Linked DNA regions of Homo sapiens: region 1 is linked to region 2. The links are contacts of gene promoters, found by promoter capture Hi-C in human tissues and cell types (Jung and others, 2019). All regions are on one chromosome and are shown on one strand. The core of a region is centred on a gene start or on the middle of the fragment in contact, and the rest is flanking DNA. Distances in the headings are between cores, read along the strand shown.

Region 1 (4,170 bases), core at 498-2,997, 410 kb before region 2:
CTAACTCCAACTTTGGCTATTGGTGACCCTCCTCTGGTTCCTGCCCTTCCCCCAACCCTGGCTAATGGAACTGTGACTCCCTTGGTCTCTTGGGCCTCAGAGTCCCCGCTGCTCACCAGCACTTCTTAAGGATAATCAGTTATAAGACCTGTCCATTCTAATTCCTCAAAAGCTCTCTAATCCATCTCTTCCACCACCACATTTATTTTCTTAATTCAGGTTCTTATCATCTCTCACCCTGACCACTGTGGTATTCTCCATAACTGGACCTCCTCCTACCTGTAATTTAAACTTCATCCAGTCCAGGCCCTAAGCAGTGGCAAAAGTGACTTCATTCTAAGTTACAAGAATTCAATTGTTGCAAATCAGGTCACATCACTCTCCTCTTTTCATCCTTTGAGTGTTGCAGTCAGTTTTAAACTCTGTTTTATTTGATCAATTACAGAAAGATGGCCTTTTCTCTTTTGCTAGTTTCTAGAGAAAGTGGTAAACAATAGACTTAACCCTTTCTTAAATGTTTGGGAGATCATACTTATAAAACCGGTTGGATCTGGGGGCATTTCTGAAGAGGAGGCCTTTTCTTGAATTCTTACTGGCCCATTTTAGTTCTCTCTAATTTGTGGCAGTTTACATTTTTCTAAGAATTTTTTCACACCATCTATATATTCAAATTTAGAGACAGTAATTTACAGTATTCTTTTTTATTTTAAATTTCTGTTGCAGATATATATATGTAGTCTATCCTTTTTAGTTTATGGATTTGTTTATTTGCAAATTTCCCCTTCTCCTCTTCAGTCTCCCCAGAAACCTGTCCTTTTTATTAAGCATTTCAAAGAGCTAGTTTAATTATTGCTACTTGCCATTATTTCCATTTTTCACAATTTCATAAATTTCTGCTATGACCTTTATTTCTATGTCCTTGCTTATTGGATGTGCTTTCCTGCTTCTTTTCCATGTTCTTTATTTGAATGCTTGGCTCACTTTTTTTCTGACTCTTTTTTGGTTTCTTAATACATGTTTTAAACTACACATTTTCTTCTATGTTCTACTTTTAGGTCCCCAGAATTTGACATGTGGTATTTCATTCATTCCTAAATATTTAATTCAGGTGTTTTGTAGAGTATGGAAGTAGGAGTGAGCAACCTAACCTCTTAAATTCCTGAATACTATCAAAGGAGGAATCTCTCTTGAGGAAGATTCCAGGAGAACAAAGCAAAGAGATCACTAGAAACACTGAAAGCTAAAATATCAATTTCTTTCATGTGTTTAAATATAAGCAATGTTTTGGTCTCTCAACCTTCATCCCTAGAAAAGGGAAGAAAAGGACCTTTGAATGCATGAAAATGATAGATGGGGGATTCTAATGCATTTCACTTTAACTGGTCTGTTTTCTAGGATTAGCGTTTGTTCTGGATACAAATCAGAGGTAAAATTTTGTGAGACTTCTTTCACATTTGTTGTTATTAAATAAGAGAAATAAAACCTTTTTATCAAATAATATCATGAGCTATTTATCTTGTTACAGTAACCTTATCTGGTTTCATCTTACAAATGTCACATTTTTTTCTCGCAATTAAAATAATTAAATTATATACTTGCTGTTAGACCAATTTGTTTTTTAGCAGTTTATGCTTTTCTTGTAAAGTAAATATATAGAGAAAGTTCATTTATGGGATCTAATAAAATTTAAGAAATTCTTTCTAATTTTTAATACAAGTCTTACTTCATTAATCTCAAAAACAGAACACCAGAATACAACACGCACACAAACACAAATATACTCTCATACATACACACAAGTCCAGATGTGTAAATAAGTATGTATTTCAAAGAAATAACATGTTTTCTGTTATATTTTGTTGTTTATAAATAATTCATAATTTTAGCTACATTGAATAAAAATTACAAATTCAGTAATGGAAAACAGTATATTGATTTATCATTTTCATTTTATAACATCATAATTTCTTTTCCTCATGTGTTTGGTAATATGCCCCTCAAGATACATTCTGTAAGATAGATATTTTCATATGTATCATAACATAGCTGTTTGTATTGACTTTTGTTTTTTTTTGAGACGGAGTCTCACTCTGTCACTGGGCTGGAGTGCAATGGTACGATCTCGGCTCACTGCAACCTCCGCCTCCCTGGTTCAAGTGATTTTCCTGCCTCGGCCTCCCAAGTAGCTAGGACTATAGGTGTGCACCACCGCACCCAGCTAATTTTTGTATTTTTAGTAGAGATGGGGTTTCACCATGTTGGCCAGGATGATCTCGATCTCTTGACCTCGTGATCCACTCACTTTGGCCTCCCAAAGTGCTTGGGATTACAGGCGTGAGCCACTGCACCCAGCCATCTTTTTGTATTGATAAATAATGTCCCATTTTTGCTGACAGAGAAGATGGGTTTGGCTAATGGGTTTTAAAATTAGGCCTAGCCTTGCCAATTACGTCATTCAGGGGTCTTTTTAACTCATTGATCTATACCTCTGAGATTTTCATGAAAAAAATGTATTGAAGGCCTGTGATATCTTAAGACATTTTAAAAGCATTTAATAAAATGTTTTTTGCAAAGTACAATACAAAGTACAGAAATAAGCAATATTTTGATTTTCCAAAGCTTTTCAGAGTATATCTCTGGTTAAAAGAGTAATAAACTTTGTAAATAGTAGTTGATTCACCTTTTTGCTGTTTCTCCCAGATAATGAGAACTTGAACTACTCTAGAGATTGGGATAGAAATCCTTTTACAAGTCTGGGGATTTCCATTTATGAGCTTTCAGCAAAATTGACGGAGGGCTTCATAAAGCTCATAGCTGATAGAATTATTAAAAGAGTTGTATGGCCGGGTGCGGTGGCTCACGCCTGTAATCCCAGCACTTTGGGAGGCCGAGAAGGGCGGATCATGAGGTCAGGAGATTGAGACCATCCTGGCTAACATGGTGAAACCCCATCTCTACTAAAAACACAAAAAATTAGCCGGGCGTGGTGGCGGGCGCCTGTAGTCCCAGCTACTCAGGAGGCTGAGGCAGGAGAATGGCGTGAACCCAGGAGGCAGAGCTTGCAGTGAGCCGAGATTGAGCCACTGCACTCCAGCCTGGGCAACAGAGTAAGGCTCTGTCTCAGAAAAAAAGAGAAAAAAAAAAGAGTTGTATGATGGGCAACAATGTGATTTTGGCATATATTTGGAAAGTTCAAGCAATTGAATGCCATTGCTGTATTAAAATCCCTTTTAATCTTATGTACTTGTTTATAAGAACAAGCTTTCACAGTAACTATATATATATATATATATACACACACACACATATGATAATACAAATAGAGTCCATGATCAGACCTATGTTCTTTTAGCAATAAATAAATATTTATGGGCCGAGTGAGATGGCTCACATTTGTAATCCCAGCACTTTGGGAGGCCGAGGTGGGCAGATTTCTTTAGCCCAGGATTTCACGACGAGCCTCGGCAATGCGGCAAACTTTGTCTCTAAAAAAAAAAAAAAAGAAAAAGAAAATTAACTGGCATGGTGTTGGACACCTGTAGTCCCAGCATCTCAGGAGGCTAAAGTGGAAGGATTTCTTGAGCCCAGGAGGTGGAGGAGGCTGCAGTGAGCTGTGATCACACCATTGTACTCTAGCCTGGGTAACAGAATGAGACCCTGTCTCAAAAAAAGAAAAAAAAAAAGAAAGAATTGTGACCTTCATAGACATCCACAAATATATGAATTGGGAAAAAGTCCCATTTATCTCATTAAGAGATGCATTTGTGATAAAATTTTGCTTTTCTGTTTAATATTTATTTATCAAAATTTGTAATAGCTTTATAATGCTTTTATCAATTGTGAATTACTAATAATTACAATTTTATTTCAATATATATTAAAATATTTCAAATTTTATGATCATCAACAAAAAATTTCAATCTGTTATATATATTTTTGGTGCTTAGAAGAATGTAGAATGACTAAAAACAACTTTCAAATATAAAATAAATTAGGATAAAACTCTGTAGGGGAATCATAATAAAAATTTGATTTCAGGTAATAAAAGAAATGATGTAAATTTTCTGACTGTCATTGGAGAATTTGTTCTTTTTGATGAATGATGCTAAATTTTAAAGTGTCATTTAGTATTAAGATTCCTTTGGGTATATTTAAAATATGATGTAAGAA
Region 2 (3,978 bases), core at 1,417-3,916:
CTGACCTAAGTTTGATTTTTCCTTTTTCCTTTTTGGTCTAATTTAACTGGGGGACATCTTGCATCTAAACTTTGATGAAAAAGAAAAAATCCTCCTTTTACTGTGATAACAAAAAGGGGTGAAAAGGGAAAGATGACACATGTATTTTTATGTATTCAATAAAAATCCTTTCCCAACTCAGGTGCCTGGGTGATGAAGGGCCTCATTATGAGTGAAATAGACAACTTATAAAGAATAAAATAAATTTAAATGTGGTCTTTGACGGTGTCTGCAGATAGGAATATTGTTATTTGGGGGATGAACGCTCGTTTTGCCGAGGAGGATCTGGCTGAGTTGTCGGAGGGATGGGCCAGAAACGCTAGTAAATTATACATGGTGCAGAATCCACTGTCAGGTAGCTGCAGTCGATGACTGAATATCCCGTGCGAGCCATGCTGCCATGCGCAAAAAGACACTGAAGGCCATCACATCCTGACTGAAAAGGAAAGTCGCACTGCCCCCTTGCAGTTTTAGCGCATAAGAAACAAAACCAGGATGCGGAAGAAAATTAAAATGCAGCTTTGCCCTTCTCCGTGGTCCTTCAAAGGCCAAATCATAAGAGGTCGTTTTGAAGCACCAGGGAACGACAGGCCTTCAAGGGACTTCTTATCTAGGATCAGGCCACGGGTGACGTTTGGGTCCCCACGCCTGCGGTTCCTGGCGGATCTACAAGGCCTGAGACCCAGAAGACTCATGGGCGCTCCCGCCTCTTCCGCCCTAAAGAGCAAGCCGAGGGAAGACTTGGCCTGGGACCTCAAAGCGTGGGACGGTTTCCAAAACCTTGAGGAATTCTCTCTCCAAGCCTGTTCTGCGAGTTCCCAGGCTCCCTCCCCAGCCATGCCAGCCTCCACTCACCACTGACTGCGTCTTTGAAGTGGGTTTTCTCCGAGGAGTCGTAGACAAACTGCACTTTGCTCAGCCTCCAAGTCGCCTCAGGTCCCTTGGACATGTTGTGGCTTTCCTGTTGAGCCGGGGAGGTGCGCTTCAATCGTCCCCGCAGCGTCTGGGTTCTTAAACCTAGGGGCCGCCACTTCCCACACCCACGCGGAGCCTGCGGCCCCTCTGCCCGCTGGGCTCGGAGTTACCTTTACAAAGAGCATTTTGAGTGCATATGCGCGATCCACCCAGAACACTTGCAGCTCCGACTGGCTGTGGCCACAGCGGCCCTTCACCTCAGCTCCCCGGGTCAATGCGATATCGGCCTGTTCTGTGATCAGCTGGGAACACAGACGCCCCGCGCCCCCTCAGCTCGCCCGGCCCCGGGGCGGGGGCTGTAAAGGGCGGCGCGTCCAAACTCTGGGTTGCACGCTTGGGCGCTCCTTTGCGCGCGCGCATCCCAGGTTCCGGGAACATGCGGTTAGATGCTCTACGTGCAGCCCCGATAGGGAAGCGGAGAGAAGGGGGTTTACTTTCAAAGCAGGCAGGGGAACAGAAGGCATTACAAGCTGGAATCCCCATGCAGCATTCGGGAGCAGCCTGCCGGGGTGTGGGAAAGAAGGCGGGCAACCCAGGTCTTCGAAGAGCCTTGAGGAAGGGTGCCCTTCGCCCTGGAGCCCTAGGAGCAAGCTGAGGGGGGGGAAAGATTCCTTACATCTACGTAGTTGCTGGCCCACACATCATAAGGTACAATAAATTTGGCTGCAAACTCTGCCATGAGACACGTCGTCCCATTTTCCCGCACCACAAATATATCTTTTTCAGGGTTAGTGGAAAGGCCTGAGAGATTTTCCACTTCTTGTTCTGCCATGATTTGAGCCATTGTATCTGCGGAACAAACAAAACAATTCCATCAGTTCAGGGCTCAGCCCACGCGTCTCGGGCGCTAGGGTGGGGAGACAGTGCTCTGCAGGCTTTGGAGTGACAAAGTTCTCTGCCAGCAGCTGTGCGCTCTACGAGCCGTTTCTCTAACCCGGGTCTAACAAGCCTCATTCCTTCGCTGTTAATTTATAATGAAAATACAGTTAAAAAAATTAAAAATCCTGACTTTGTTTGTAATATAGCTGGCTGTTTTCTACATCTTGGGATTTTAAAGTAAATATTTCTTGCCAATGCTCTGACCTCACGAAGCTGGCCTGTCTAGGCTCTGTCTGGAATATGCCACAGAGGTGTATGGCTCTCAGGGGAATTCCCTGCCACCGGCGAGGAAGGCCCTCCCTCCTCCCCTAAAAGAAAAAAAGAAAAAACACCGCAAAACATTAAGGGCCATATTTTTTATCTCAAGCTAATTGACTTTACTTTGCCGGCTCTGTTCTCTGCAAAGAGTGCCCGTCCTCTCTCCCAGTCGCCAAATCGCTACTCACGGAACAACATCAGGAGAACTCGAAGTCTGTCGATGCTGGGGACCCCTCTTCCTTGGAGATCCATACTCGCAGTGCCCCGAATGAGGCCGGCTGTGCTGCTGCAGAGGCCGCCAGAGAGGGAATCCCTCAAAGTCGCCGCTGGAGTGGGCCGGGGTGAGCGAGAGGCGGGGGACAGAGAAGGGGGAGGGAGGGAGCGCGTATTCTGTGAGCGCCTAGCTAGGACTCGGTGTCGAGCGCGGCACCGACAGCTGCTGGCAGAGCAAATCGGCTCACTGCGGAGGAAAGGACCGCACGGCGGTCCACGGCTGCGAGTGCTGAAAGCAATCCGATTGTGTGGCAGGAGTGGCTGTGGCTTGGCTTGTGCGGAGGGCCAATGAGATCTGGGGGGACTAAACTTCTCCCTGGGTCTGTTTCCTGTTCTGCAACTGCATCCGCAAAGATGAGTCTGTTCTGAGAAACTTAATACCACCCTCAGCCTTATTAAATCTCCTTACCAGGTACAGTTATTAAGTGGTGTAGATACCTTATCACTGGAGTACTGTCTTCTGAAAACGCATCTGGTTCCCGAAAGAAAACGGTGGAGCAAAAATTGTTGCTGATTCGGGGGAGGAGGGCTATGCAGGAATAGAGAAGGGAAAATGCTATGGCAACAGTTTCCTGAATTTGGAGACATCCCCTTCTCTCCCCTGCTCTCAATGAGCTCATGGGTTTAAAGTTAAATTGACGCCTCCTCGAACGAGGCCATCAGACAATGCAGTAGCTCCATGTGGGCTTATTTTCCTGTGAATTTTGCTCCCGGGTGCATGAGGACTCTGAACTCTGGGGTCACCTACCCTCCCGCATTATACTGTGACCACTCTGCCAAAAAGGGATGCAAGCAAATCAGAAGTTTTTGAGAGTTATCTAGTGTCTCCTAGGACAGAAATTTTAGAATTATGCCCTAAGTAATGTCACATAGTTATGTAAGAAAAACACACACTGATATTACTCTAAAGCCTGTAGTGGAACAGAAGAACAAATACTACTGGGCTAATTCCTGTATTTACATATTTGGTAGCTTGCTTATTTTTTATTTTTGCTCTGTAAATCAGAATACAGCTTTCAAAAATACACATGCAGTCCTCATCAATTGTAGTGATGTCCAAATATTTTATTCCTTAGAAGATATTTCATAATGCAAATAAATGTTGCATCAGTAATATAATGTTATAAAACAATGTCATATTAAAGGGAAAATTGCAAAGTATTTCACCTGCATTATCTAATTTGATTCTCCCCAATCTTAGAGGGTAGGCAAGGAAAGATATGAGTTACTGTGGTTTTACATACCCCAAAACTGAGGCTCAAATAAATTAAATGACCTTCCCAAATGTCACATGGTCAGTTAGAATTAAAATACAAAAATCACATGCTTTAACTCTGTGAGATTATCTTCATTTCTCCTTATATAATATTTTTACTCCATATTTTGACTTCCATAAAAATCTATATTCAATATCAAATAATAATCTGAAATCTGAAATCTCTATCATTAATTCACATTCTTCAAATTTATAGAATGCTGTTTTAAGTATAATCACATTCTGACATATCTGCCACAAAGTATCTATATAATGTTTTTGGCTTTCAAACATATTCC

What was found. The method cuts DNA at HindIII sites, captures the fragments that hold promoters and counts their contacts. A contact is called where the count stands out against the background at its distance.
Region 1: a contact is called between a fragment that was not itself captured here and the fragment with the promoter of LAMP5 in region 2, in 1 of the 25 tissues and cell types used here (H1 embryonic stem cells).

The regions. Positions count from the first base shown.
Region 1 is chr20:9,922,115-9,926,284 of GRCh38, reverse strand. No RefSeq gene overlaps it. Among named protein-coding and RNA genes, the nearest start is that of PARAL1, 62 kb to the left of the region's middle. The HindIII fragment of the contact is 5,925 bases long and covers 1-4,170 here.
Region 2 is chr20:9,513,278-9,517,255 of GRCh38, reverse strand. It overlaps LAMP5 (lysosomal associated membrane protein family member 5), which reads right to left and starts at 2,666. Exons shown (of 6, transcript NM_012261.4): 1 at 2,340-2,666; 2 at 1,631-1,803; 3 at 1,125-1,256; 4 at 895-1,000. The coding sequence starts at 2,403. It overlaps LAMP5-AS1 (LAMP5 antisense RNA 1), which reads left to right and starts at 2,258. Exons shown (of 5, transcript NR_109957.1): 1 at 2,258-2,492. RefSeq lists an enhancer at 1,147-1,731. The HindIII fragment of the contact is 16,129 bases long and covers 1-3,978 here.